Linked DNA regions of Homo sapiens: regions 2 and 3 are each linked to region 1. The links are contacts of gene promoters, found by promoter capture Hi-C in blood cells and fetal thymus (Javierre and others, 2016). All regions are on one chromosome and are shown on one strand. The core of a region is centred on a gene start or on the middle of the fragment in contact, and the rest is flanking DNA. Distances in the headings are between cores, read along the strand shown. Region 1 holds the start of SNHG8 (small nucleolar RNA host gene 8). Region 2 has its middle 160 kb from the start of NDST4. Region 3 overlaps NDST4 (N-deacetylase and N-sulfotransferase 4).

Region 1 (4,467 bases), core at 572-3,071:
GTTTTAAGTAATCCTCTTGAATGCCAGTCATTAAAGGACTTTGCCCTTCTACATCAAATTACATCCTTTTCACAAATCCCCATTTCTGTAATAACTGGTGCAAACCTAAAGGTGCTTTATAGTTTTACTACTTTGCAGATTTGCAATGCTGCATATAATGCAGAAGAGCATTAAAAACTTTTGTAAAAACTCATGATTTTGATAAACTTTTAAAGTAGCGTTTATATGTAAATAGAACTACACATGGCACACACACTTGCACAAGGGCTTCAGAAAAACGTGCAATATAGGTGAGAAAAATGTCTATTGAAACTTTCTCACAGGCTGCCCTTATAATTAAACTAGTGTTGGGGCAAGCAACATCTGTTTCAAGTAGATCAGGGACTAGCAAACCTAAAAGGCAGCAAGCAGCCTGCAGTTTGCTCAATCCTTAAGAATACATGGTTCATACAACATGCTTTTACTATGTCTTAAGTGTGACTTTTGAAAGATACAAGTGTTCTGTGCATATTTGTGTAAATAAATACATAATTTTCCACCTTGTATAACTGCCTTAAATTTTTGTATGGTTTAAAAAGAGTCTGCTGTCTCCCTTGGGGGTAGCCTGGTAATTTTTATATTTTACATTTTTCACAAAGGCTGCAATTACCTTAGAACTGTACTCACACTACTTCCACATGAGCGTGTAACACTAAATAGGAGGTATTATGCTATTAACTACCTTTCCGTCTATTAATCACTCAGTCAAGGAACAATGAGTAGCCACATGAATTAAGCATTTTATTTAATTATCACGGACCACCTTAAATATTACTTTACAAAATTCAGGCCTATATTTAAAATAGGTGTCCTGATAACTTCCAGGATATTATTCGGAACACCCGTTTCCCCAACTACGATAAGTCCATTGCCGGATGCTGAATAAACTTCGCCCATTACCACTTGGATTTCTTGATAGTCTGCAAGAGAAAAAAAGCATTATAAAACTCCGAGCTGTGTACTTACCTCACTGTTTTGAGATCTTATCAGCTAATTCAGTTGGTTGTTAACTCAAACTACAAAAGCCAGCAAAACGGGCCAACTTTAGCTTTCCAACGTCCTGCCGCTAAGGCGTTTCAGATTAACTCAGAAATATCAAAAAAGAAATGTACCTTATGTTTCCATCATCCATCGTAATGTGTTCAGCTCAGCTTCCTAGAAACATTGAACAACGGTTTAGAAATTTTGCCCAATAACCCGGCACCCTCTAGGTTTTTAACAGTGAATGTTACTTGTGCAAGTCAGAATCTGATACCAATTAAATGGTGACAGCTTTGCCAATAAACAAGGATATGCTCTTCCATGGCTAGGAAGGGAGACTGCCACGGCTGACAGGTCCCAAAGATACATGGAGATTCACAATCCAGAATTAACCAGCAACCAAACTGCTACAGGTTATTACTCACCATCTGGCTCAAACTGACGGTTCTCGGGGTGCTAGGGCACAAGAGCGACAGAGTAGACTCAAGATGGCCACATGACACAGACGGCTGAACAGGCTTCACCGGAGTCCCCGAGTGCACGGAACCTTTCCCCGAGGGCCCACGGCCCACGCACGCCGGGGTTCAGGGTCCAGGGCTGCACGTGGACGCCCGGCGACCTAATGAGCACTCAAGTCCGCGCATGCTTGTAAACTTAAGGGTTTCCAAAGCCGCCCCCGACCTACCAATATCCTGACTGCGCTGCCTTTTAGGTAAGGCAGTAAGTTTCGGCCCAATTATCATTTTAACTTACGAAAGACAACTACGTACTTTCACCTAATCCCGACGCTTCCCGAATGTGAAAGGCCGAGGCCTTCGGCACACGCTCTCTTATAGAACTGATGACGCTATTCCGGGGGAAGCGCCGCGAGGGGCGGAGCCTATGCTGTTTCACTCCCCGCCCCGCCTAGCCCCGCCGCGGCTCCACCTGTTCCGTCTACCACCCCCTTCGCGGCTCCTTTCCCCCCTCCCCCGCACATGGTCCACGTCTGAGCGGGTCACCTGGCTCCGGATCCAGACGCATGCGCACATACGAGAGCCAAAAGGTTCTCGCATAGCGAAAGATCCTGACGCTTACCGGTGTAGGTCACGAAAGCGAGGGGGATTTTTTTGGTATTTCCTGTTTAGGATACTTATTTTAGACAATATTAGAAAAAGGGGCCGAACGCGGTGGCTCACGTCTGTGATCCCAGCACTTTGGGAGGCCGAGGCGGGCGGATCACTTGAGGTTAGGAGTTGGAGACCAGCCTGGCTAACATGGCGAAACCCCGTTTCTACTAAAAATACAAAAATTAGCCTGGTGTGGTGGTGAACGCCTGTAGTCCCGGCTACTCGGGAGGTTGAGGTGGGAGAATCTCTTGAGCCCGAGAGGCGGAAGTTATGGTGAGCTGAGATCGCTGGTTAGCATTTTACAAATTACCTAATCACTACTCAAAAACAAGAAAAGTCTGAGAAACTATTATGCCAGAGAAAATGATGCATAATGATTAAATGTAATGTGGTATCCTGGCTGGGATCTCCAGCAGAAAAAGGACATTAATGGAAAACTAGCGAATCTGAACAAAGTGTGGAATTTAGGTAATAGTGCCAATACCGATTTCTTTATTGTGACAGATATACCATGGTATTGTAAGATATTAATGGTAGGGGAAATTGGATGAAGGGGGTGTGGGGACTCCATTTTTGCAAATTTTCTGTAAATGTAAAACAAAGTTTAACTTAAAAAAGCAATTATAACCTTACAGTCTATTATACTTTCATTTTAAGACAAAGTAGTGATTTAGTAGTGGTTTCTATCTACTTTAGTGTGAAATTTGTGGCTGAGATGACAGTATTTCTAAGTTTGACTTGAGATCAAACCCAATGAATTTAGCTGCATTCAAACCAAGGCTTTGAGCCTTTGGATATTCAGGAGAGACAATGTGGTAACAAATAAAAGAATTAAAAATTGGTTGGTAAATGAAGATTGGCTTAAGGATTTTATTTTATGTATTTATTTATTTAGAAACATTCTTGCTCTGTTGCCTAGCCTGGAGTGCAGTGGCATGATCTTGGCTCAGTGCAACCTCCACCTCCTAGGCTCAAGCGAGCCTCCTGCTAGGCGTGTGCCACCACTTGGCTACTTTTTTTTTAAGGTTTTTTTTTTTTGAAAGACAAGCCCTCACTATATTGCCCTCAGGCTGATCTCCTGTGCTCCTGGGCTCAAGTAATCCTCTTTCCTCGGCCTCCCAAAGTGCTAGGATTGCAGGTGCAAGCCACTGCGCCCAGCCTAAGGATTTTAAAGATAGAATGCAAGGTGAACCTGTTAGAACTGATCAAATGATGGCTAGGTAACATTTCAGTTCTGCTTTTGATACATGGAGTGAACAGTTCATTATAGAATATTTATTCTTCAACAATGCTTTTCCCTGCACTATATCTTTTTTCCTTTTGTGGTTTAGTGTTGAAACTGGTAGTCATCAGAAAAATTTAACATAGAATGGCACATCTGTCATATGAATGCTGAGATGAATAGGAGAAAATATAGTGAGGAAATAACCTGTGGACTTATTTCTATCTTAAAACACTTAGCAAATCTAAACTTCCAGTGTATACTAGCAGCGTGATACTTCTGCTGTAAAAATTGGTTTTGCTGCAGTAATAAAAGTATAGTGTATTGCAGTATGATCTAGTGTTAAAAAAAAAGCATAGTGTCCAAAAGAGAGGAGATGGACGTTCCCTCCTATCTATATTAAAATATTCTTGTCAGTTCTGAACATCTTGTTCAGTTGTTAAACATTTACTAGACTCCAGCAAATGTTTATTGAGCAGACATGGCCTTTGCCTCAAGACTTGAGAATATAATTGAGTAACTTACAGTTAGTGCCATTACAATGTTTTCCAAATCATTCAAAGTTCAAAGCAAAGAAATTAGTTCTTATTTTTCCCTATCCTTTATTTTCAGTATTTGATATATTTTTGTATCAACCAATGTATTAGTTATCGATTGCTGTATATCAAATTAGCCTAAAGCCTAGTAGCTTAAAAAAAAATAAGCACTTACTATCTCAAATAGTTTTTGTTGGTCAGGAATCTAAGAGCAGCTTAACTGGCTCAGTGTATCTTGTGAGGTTGCAGTCAGGATGTTGACTGGCATTGCAGCCATCTGAAGGCTTGACTGGGGCTGGTGCGGCAGGATTCTCTTTCAAGGTGGCTCATTCACAGACCTGACAAGTTAATGCTCATTGTTGGCAGGAAGCCTCAATTCCTCAGCATGTGAATCTCTCCATAGGGCTGCTTGACTGTCCTCATGATTCTCGTGGCAGCTGGCTTTCCTCAGAGTGAGTGACTCAAGAGAGGAAGCTCCAACACTTTTTATTGTGGCCTACACACCATCACTTGTTAGAAGTTAGTTATTAATGCCAGCTCACATTCAAGGGGAGGGAAATTAGCCCGTCTTGAGGGGAGT
Region 2 (4,284 bases), core at 917-3,416, 3.0 Mb after region 1:
CAACTTTTTGTTATGAAGTGTGATGTTAGCTGTAGGCCTGTCATATACAGCCTTCACTATGTTGAGGTAAATTCTTTCTATGCAGTCATGTGTCACTTAACCACAGGGATATGTTCTGACAAATGCCTCCTTAGGCATTCATCATTGTGCAAACATCATAGAATGCACTTACACAAACCTAGTTAATATAGCCTAATACAAAACTGGGTTATATGATATAGTCTACTGTCCCTAGGCTACAAATCTGTACAGCATATTACTCTACTGAATACTGTAGCAATCATAACACCATAGTAAGCATTCATATATCTAAACATATTTAGACACAGAAGAAGTACAGTGAAAATATGGTATTATAAACTTATGGGACCACTATCATATAGGCAGTCTATTGACTGAAACTTCATTTTATGACAGCATGTCTGTACCTAGTTTTTTGAGTTGAGAGTATCTGTTTTGTTTTGTTTTATTACAAAAGAATGTCGAATGTTCTCCAATGTTTTGAGATGATCACATGATCTTTTATTCTGTGAATGTGATGTATCACATGAATTGGCTTGCATATGTTGAATCATCTTTGCATCCCATAGATCAAGCCCACTTGGTTACAGTATATGATCTCTTTAAGGTGCTGCTAAACTCAGTTTGCTCATATTTTTTCAAGATTTTTGTATTTATGTTAATCAAGAATGTTGGCCTCTAGGTTTTTTTTTATATATTTTTTTTTAACTGTTCTAGAGTGTTTTTCTATCTTTGGTATAGTGTAATGCTGACCTATAAAATTAGTTTGGAAATGTGCCCTTTTTATAATTTTTTAGGAGTGTTAAGAAGGATTGGTGTTAATTCTTTAAAGGTTTAATCAAATTCTCCAGTGAGGCCATCTGCTCCTGGGCTTTTCATTGTTGGAAAATGTTGGATTCTTGATTCAGTCTCTGTATTCATTATTGATCTGTTCAAGTTTTCTATTTCTTCATGATTTGGTTTTGGCAGGTTGTATGTTTCCAGGAGTTTATCCAACCTTCTAGGTTATCCAATTTGTTAGCATATAATTGTTAATAATAATATGTCTAATATACATCATATTGTTCATATTATATGTAATATATATTAAAATTATGAACAATTATAACCTTTTGATGATTTTTCTTATTACTGGTATCAGTTACAATATCTCTTCTTTCATATCTGATATTTCTGCCTTCTGTCCTTTTTCCTTAGTAAAGCTGGCTAAGGTTTTGTCAATTATTTTATCTTTTCCAAAAAACCTACTCTGAGATTCATTTATTTTTTTATTTTCTACTTGGTTTATTTTTGCTCTAAACTTTGTTATTTTATTTCTACTGCTAATTACAGTTTATTTGTTCTTTCTCTATTTTATGAGGTATAAAGTTAGGTTGTTTATTTGAGACTTTCTCTTTACTGTGGCTTTTGCTGCATCCCTTAGGTTCCAGAATATTGTGTTTTTTATTTTTATTTGTCTTGAGTTTTTTTTTTTCAACTTTTCTTTTGATGTCTTTTTTGATTCATGGTTGTCCAAGAGTGTGTTGTTCGATATCTACTTATTTGTAAATTTTCCTGTGTTTCTTATGTTAGTCATTTCTATTTTTATTTTATTATGGTCAGAAAATATATGTAGTGTAGTTTCAGTCTTCTTAAATTTTTTGTGACATTTTTGTGAACTAAAATGTGACCTATCCTCATGAAATATTCATGAATTTGAGAAGAATGTGTATTTTACTGCTATTTGGATGAAATCTTCTGTATATAGGTCTATTAGGTCCATTGGTCTATAGTTTTATTCAACTTCTCTGTTTCTTTATTGATCTTCTGTCTTGATGTTCTTTCCAGTATTGAAAGTGGGATAAGTCTGCTACCACAGTGTACTACAATAGAAGTCAGTAACTGCATGCTGTTTGTTCCCCCTTTCAATTCTGTGCATGTTTGCTTTGTAGGTGCTCTGATGTTGAGTGCATATACATCTACAATTGTTACATCTTTCCAGTGAATTGACAATTTTATCCTTATATAATGTACTGGTTTGTCTCGTGATAATTTTTTTACTTAAAGTTTATTTTGTCTGATATAAGTACTGAATAGCCAACCCTACAATGTTTGGTTATGAGTTGCATGGAAAATTTTTTTTCCACCCCTTCACTTTCAACGTATACATATCCTTAAATCTAAAATGAGTGTCCTGAAGCTAGGAGGTGTTTGGGTCTTGTAAATTTTTTCATTCTGCCAATCTATGTCTGGCCAATGTTATTGGTGTGAGCAATAAACTCCTTTGTTTCTGATTTCTGATCCAGTAGTCTTTTATTTTCTTTTTTTTTTTTTTTTTTTTTTTTTTGAGACGGAGTCTCGCTCTGTCGCCCAGGCTGGAGTGCAGTGGCGGGATCTCGGCTCACTGCAAGCTCCGCCTCCCGGGTTCACGCCATTCTCCTGCCTCAGCCTCCCAAGTAGCTGGGACTACAGGCGCCCGCCACTACGCCCGGCTAATTTTTTGTATTTTTAGTAGAGACGGGGTTTCACCGTTTTAGCCGGGATGGTCTCGATCTCCTGACCTCGTGATCCGCCCGCCTCGGCCTCCCAAAGTGCTGGGATTACAGGCGTGAGTCTTTTATTTTCTACCAAAATAAAATCTCTTTGACACGTCATAGTTCTTATCAGGAAAGTGATATTCTATTTTATTTTTTAAATATAATATTGAAAAATTTAATACTCAAAAAAAAGGAATGTGCTTAAAATACATACTCAACAACTTCGCCAAATTTTGAAGGTCTTTTATAAGAAGACAACATCTCAGCACACATCGGACGAAAATATGAGTATAACAAAAGAGAACCTTCTTATAACTGAACAATATAGTAAGAAAAACTGAGAGAGAGAACAAAGACCTTTGTTTTTGCAACACTGGCAAAGGGATAGCTCTAAATCCATGCCAAATGAAATATTTAACATTCATATCAAGTTTTTAATGGTGATTTTTTTCTTTAACTAATTACATATTAGGTGTATAACATATAATTTACATACTTTGCTATAATTATATAATAAACTTAGTATGTGTTAAATAAAATATGCATACTTCTATACATTAAATTATATAATATAAATGTGTATATGCATATATACACATACATGTAATGTCATGTGATAATCTCAATTCTGTTATTCAAATAGGTATTTCTATTATATCTTTTATTACATCCCAAGATTAAGAATTTTTACAATATGCTCCAAGTTTCACTGGAGGCCAGTATGGTTCAAATATCTCTTTTTGAGCACATTTTAGTCAAGATTCTGGTGCACTGAGTAGGTGAAACATTTAAGTAATACTTTTTACAAATGGAAAACTTTGTCCTATTGTGATGTTCAACATATTTCAATACCATGAAAAGGCGACTACAGACAACTAACAACCAATATATATCCATGTTATTCATGCTAAGTATTATCACAGTAATTACTATTTTAACAACTTTCCAACTTCTCAGAGTTTATTTGTTATTTGCAGTGGAGTTCAATGACAGTTGATCTTTGGGAAACTCTACTTCATAGTGTCATTCAAAGATCAAGCCTTCTCTTTTTTATACGTCTTCCTTAGAAAATTGGAATCATTCACTAGATCCTCTGCATCTTGCCAGCAAGCGAGGAAGGCAAGATAATTTGGCACATTATGCCAGAAATTTTACAGGCAATCAGGCTTGGAAGTGGTGTCTATCACTTAAACTGACATTGCTTTGGCCACAGCTCTGTCACATGTCTCCAAGTGACAGCTTGAGAAAAGTCTAGCAGAGTGCCAAAGAGGAAGAGAACACAGCTATTGTCCAACAATTGGCCAATCTCTGCAGGTTCTTGGAAAGCAGAGAGCAGAAAAATAGAAAATATTATGGTAATAAATATGACAAGAAATTATAGTCTCATTTATGCTACCACTTGCCCCAACATTTTTTATTAGATTTTCTGAAGTTATTCCTCCTTTGATGACATTTTAATATCCTATTTCTCATTTCTTTCTCTTACAGATTCCACAGAACATATAGAATGGATCTTAAAATTGAACCTACTCATTTGTCAGAGTCTAATGCACTTAAAAAAGCAATTTGAGCCTTCTCTCATTCACTCTGGTTCATAGATTACTCTGTGGTTTAGTGAGATAGATCAGAATCTAAGTTAGAACAAAATAATACAAGGTAAATAATGGATAATTGTTTTAAAATCTGTGATTCATTGTGTTTATAATATCAAGTTTATACAAAATGTATGTATGGAAACCAGCAGGTT
Region 3 (4,747 bases), core at 1,069-3,568, 3.2 Mb after region 1:
CATTTGTCAGAAACGAGGTATTGTAATGAGAGGATTTCCAGAAATTCTCCGTGCTTTGGGGTGCAGGGAAATTGAAGAGTAGAGAAACAGGTATTTTAGAAGTGTCATTTTGTCTTATGAATCAGACTATTTAATGTTATTAAGGAAATATACGTGAAGAACATAATTCCTTTTAAATAAAGTATTGTGGCTCTTAAACTGTGCTTCTTAAATGTATCCTACTGTGCATGTGTAATAGTAGCCCACATAGGGCTACAAATTTATAAGAGCTAGAAAGTTATATATAAATGTCATGAAACAGCTTGCTCTTTTTTTGAATAGACTTAACTTTTTAGAGCACTTTAAGATTCCCAGCAGAAATTGAACAGAAAGTACAAAGACTTTCCATATTTCTCTGTGTACAACTTTTCCCACCACCATCTCCTACAATCAAGAAACCAGTACTGACAGGTCATTATCACCCCAAGTCCACAGATTACATCAGGGCACACACTTGGTGTTTTATATCCTATGGGTTTCAACAAATGTTGTATTGTCATTACTTTTTAATTATGTATTAATTTTCATAGTATTAAATAGAAAAATTTCACTACCCTAAATATCACCTGTGTTCCACCTATTCATCCCTCTCTCCCTGCTCCCAAACCTGTGATAACCACCGATCCTTTCACTCACTCTATAGTTTTGCCTTTTCCAGAATTTCATATAAATGGAATTATATAGTATATAACCTTTTCTGATTAGATTATTTCACTTACTAATATGCATTTTATGTTCATCCATGTATTTCTGTGGCTTGATAGATCATTTATTTTTAGAGCTGAATGATATTTCACCGTACAGATGTACCAAAGCTTATTTATTCATTCACTTTTTGATGGACAGTTTGGTAGCTTCCAAGCCTTGGCATCTATAAATAAAGCTGCAATAAAACATCTGTGTGCAAATTTTTGTGTGAATGTAAATTTTTTAACTCATTGAGTAAATACCAAGGATCATGATTGCTGGATAATATGACTATGTTTAGCTTTGTAAGAAACTGCCAAATTGTCTTGCAAAGTGGCTGTATCATTTTTCATTCCTACCAGCAATGAATGAGAGCACTTGTTGCTCTATGTCCTCCCCAGCATTTAGTGTTGTCATTGTTTTAGATTTTACCCATTCTAAAAGGTGTGTACTGGCATCTCATTGATACTTTAATTCGCAACTCCCCAGTACCATATGATGTGTACCATCTTCTCATATCCTAAATGGCCATTTGTATTTTTTCATTAAGGAGGTATCTATTTAGGTTTTTATTTCCCATTTTTGAATTGGGTTGTTTTTCTACTATGGAATTTTAAGAGTTCTTTGTATATTTTGGAAAACAGTTCTTTATCAGATACGGCTATTGCAAATATTTTCTCCCAGTTTGTAGCCTGTCATCTTTCTCTTCAGAGTGTCTGCCACCGAGCAAAAGTTTATTACTTTAATAATGTTAAACGTATCAATTCTTTCTTTTTTGGATTGTTCCTTTTGTGTTAAGTAAAAAAAAATCAAGGTCATCTAGATCTTCTCCTATATGATCTTCTAAGAGTCTTATAGTTATGTATTTTACATTTACATTTCAATAAATTTATATCTACAAATAGTCTAAAATTCACTTGAGTTAATTATTAAAAAGGTTGTAAAGTCTGTGTGTAAATCACTGTTTCTGCATGTGGATGTTCTGTTGTACCAGCAGGGTTTATTGAAAAGGCTATCCTTTCTGCATTGCATTACCTTTGTTCTTTTGTCAAAGATACTTGACATCTGGGCATGGTGGCTCATGCCTGTAATCCCATCATTTTGGGACGCCAATGTGGAAGGACTGCTTGAGCCCAGGAATTCAAGACCAGCCTAGGTAACATAGTGAGACCACTGTCTCTACAAAATATGTATATAAAAAAAATTAGCAAGGTGTGGTGGCACATGCTTGTGGTCCTAGCTATGCAGAAGGCTGCGGTGGGAAGATCACTTGATCCCAGGAGGGCTAAGCTGCAGTTAGCCATGCTGTGATCATGCCACTGCACTCCAGCCTGGGTGACAGAGGGGGAACCTGATTAAAAAATAAAAAAGAAAAGGAAAACATTAATCGACAATATTTTTGTGAGTTTATTTTTGGGATCACTATTCTGGTCTGTTCTTTCATTTACACCACGGTGTCTTGATTACTATAGCTTTATAATAAACCTTGAATCTTGAAGTTTGTTAGTATCTATCCTCCAACTTTGTTATTCTCCTTTAATATTGAATTGGTGACTGTGAGTCTTTTGCTTTCCAAATATACTTTGCGTGTTCTTTTTAATCCATATTTTCATTTTTAAGTCTTCCTCTGGACTATTGTAACTAATTATTAACTGGTCTCCTACCTGCTGGCTTTAATCCACCCTCTTAGTTCCTCAAAAGATAACTTTCTAAAAGGAAATGTTTACCATGTCAGTCTTCACATCGAAGTATTTCAATAGTTGTCCAATTTTAAACAAATTTAAACTCTCTAGAATTTGAGTAAGACCTTTTTATCTTCTATTACCTACCTACCTTTTCAATCCAATTTCTTGCTACTCGTTTGTAAAGAGAGATATAGGAACTAGGAATAAAAGGTACAGAACAGAATAATATTCCAGCTTCAAAGAGTTTGCATTTTAATTGGAGTGATAGACAAGAAGAAATGTAATATTATGTATATGGTGTAATAGATTGTTAGTATTACACACACAACCAAGCAGGGTTTAGGAAGTGTAAGGAGGGAGCTTGCAATTTTGCACCGGGAAACCGGAAACAACTATACTGAGGATATTACATTTGAATAAAAGATTAAAAGAAATGAGGACATCTGCCATGTTTATATCTGGTTCACAAGTATTCTAGGCAAGAAGAAACAAGAAGTCCAGAAGCCTAGAAGTACATATGTAAAGAACACAGCATGTTTGGAGAATATAGAGAGGCCCAGTAGGGAAGATGTAGTAGAATACTTGGTAGAACTGTGTGGACCACTCTGTGAATTTGGCTGTTACTCTAAGTAAAATTAGGGCCGATTTTGGTGGTGGGGAGTTGATCAGAGGAGAGACATAACCTTAATTACATTGTAAAATGAGGACCCTGGTCAATGTATTGGGAAAAAAATGATGTGGAGCAAGGGCTTAGGCAGAGATCAATTAGAAAGAAATTTCAATAGTCCAGTGGAGAAATAATGCTAATTTGTGCAGAGGTGATAGCCATGGGAATTGTTAAGATATGTTCAGATTCAAGATATATTTTATGGGTAGAGCCAATGGATGGGATGCCTGGTATGTCTGACGGGAAAGAAAGAGAGGAGTCAATGGCCAGCCCCAATAGAGATAGAGAGAAAGAGAGTTCCTAAACAAATTTAAAAATTAAGCATCATTTACTTATATGGAGAAACAGTGGGAAGAATAAGTTTAGGATAAAGGAAAATATCAGATAATCAGGTTTGGTCTCATTTAAGTTGGAAATGCCCATTAGATTTCCAAGTGAAAATATCACATATGTGGTTAGATATACAAACAGGAGTTGGTAATAGATTTAGCTGGAAGCGTAAACTTTGAAGTCAACTTTATCAATAGTACTTAAAACTAGAACATTGTAAGATATCCCAAGGAAGTGAATATAAATAGAAAAGAGTAGAAGAGTAAAGAATAGGCCCTGGGGAACTTCACATTTAGAAGGTAAGGATTAAGAAAAAACATAAATTGTGACTAAGTCATAAAGAAACTGAAATATACGATTTCCTAGAAGCTTACTAAAGATAGTTTCTGTGCGGTTGAGGGGATGATCAGGGGTATAAAATGCCGCTTATAGGTAAAGTAAGATAAGATGAGGAGCAAAAATTGATAAATGGATTTTACAACGTGAAGTTTATTGGTGACATTTATAAAATAAATTTCAATGAAGTTGTGATGGTAAGCCTGATTGGAGTAGGTCCTAGAAAAATTGGACTTAGCATTTCAAACAGTTTTGCTGTAGACAGGAACAAAATATAGCGATAGATTGTGAAGTAAGTGAATCATGATAAAAAAGAACAGAATGCCTGTGTTAGAATGGATATTTTAGTCGAGAAGGAAAATATTATTGCTACATGGGAGTGTGAAAAGTATTACTGAAGCAATATCTTCAGTGAGTAAGTGATAATGCATTAGAACTGGTGAACACTTGTTCTAGCTAAGGAGGGTGTCCTTAGCTAGAATGGATAACTCATCCTAAAGAGAACATACACTCACATAGGGAATAAGTGTTTGAGTGCTTATGAAAATCCTTGTCTGCTTGCTACTGTGCTCTCTATGAAATAGAAAGCAAGATTATCAGATGAGAACAATGAAAAGGAAAGAAATGTTAGAAGTTTGAAGATAGAGAAAAATATGAAACAGTCATCTAGGAGAAAAGATAGTTAATGAACTAAAAAGAGATAGCAAGACTTATCACAGAATTAAAAGCTCATTTGGGTCTACTGATCATGAATTTAAGTCAGTTGAGTAATGTTCTATCCATTATCAGAATTGCAAGTGTAGATTTGGTGGACAGTGGGATTTAGTCAGTTTTGTTCTAAAAAATGTGTTGAGTAATGTTCTATCCATTATCAGAATTGCAAGTGTAGATTTGGTGGACAGTGGGATTTAGTCAGTTTTGTTTTAAAAAATGTACATCATGAAATAAAAGAGTGTAAAATGATTTGAGAGTATATAAAATAGAATTAATATAATAATTGATT

The links. Contacts are between HindIII fragments. The CHiCAGO score rates a contact against its expected background, and 5 or more counts as called.
Region 2: a contact is called between a fragment that was not itself captured here and the fragment with the promoter of SNHG8 in region 1, in 1 of 17 cell types (M1 macrophages). The highest score is 6.4, in M1 macrophages.
Region 3: a contact is called between a fragment that was not itself captured here and the fragment with the promoter of SNHG8 in region 1, in 1 of 17 cell types (non-activated CD4 T cells). The highest score is 7.3, in non-activated CD4 T cells.

Annotation. Positions count from the first base shown.
Region 1 is chr4:118,276,116-118,280,582 of GRCh38, reverse strand. It overlaps SNHG8 (small nucleolar RNA host gene 8), which reads right to left and starts at 1,821. Exons shown (of 3, transcript NR_034011.1): 1 at 1,791-1,821; 2 at 1,152-1,194; 3 at 760-959. SNORA24 (small nucleolar RNA, H/ACA box 24) reads right to left here and starts at 1,393; the gene lies at 1,263-1,393. It overlaps PRSS12 (serine protease 12), which reads left to right. Exons shown (of 13, transcript NM_003619.4): 13 at 1-545. RefSeq lists a silencer at 1,994-2,043 and an enhancer at 2,114-2,293. The HindIII fragment of the contact is 13,799 bases long and covers 1-4,467 here.
Region 2 is chr4:115,275,287-115,279,570 of GRCh38, reverse strand. No RefSeq gene overlaps it. Among named protein-coding and RNA genes, the nearest start is that of NDST4, 160 kb to the right of the region's middle. The HindIII fragment of the contact is 4,335 bases long and covers 1-4,284 here.
Region 3 is chr4:115,096,050-115,100,796 of GRCh38, reverse strand. The region is part of intron 1 of NDST4 (N-deacetylase and N-sulfotransferase 4); the gene reads left to right. Among named protein-coding and RNA genes, the nearest start is that of NDST4, 15 kb to the left of the region's middle. The HindIII fragment of the contact is 2,923 bases long and covers 857-3,779 here.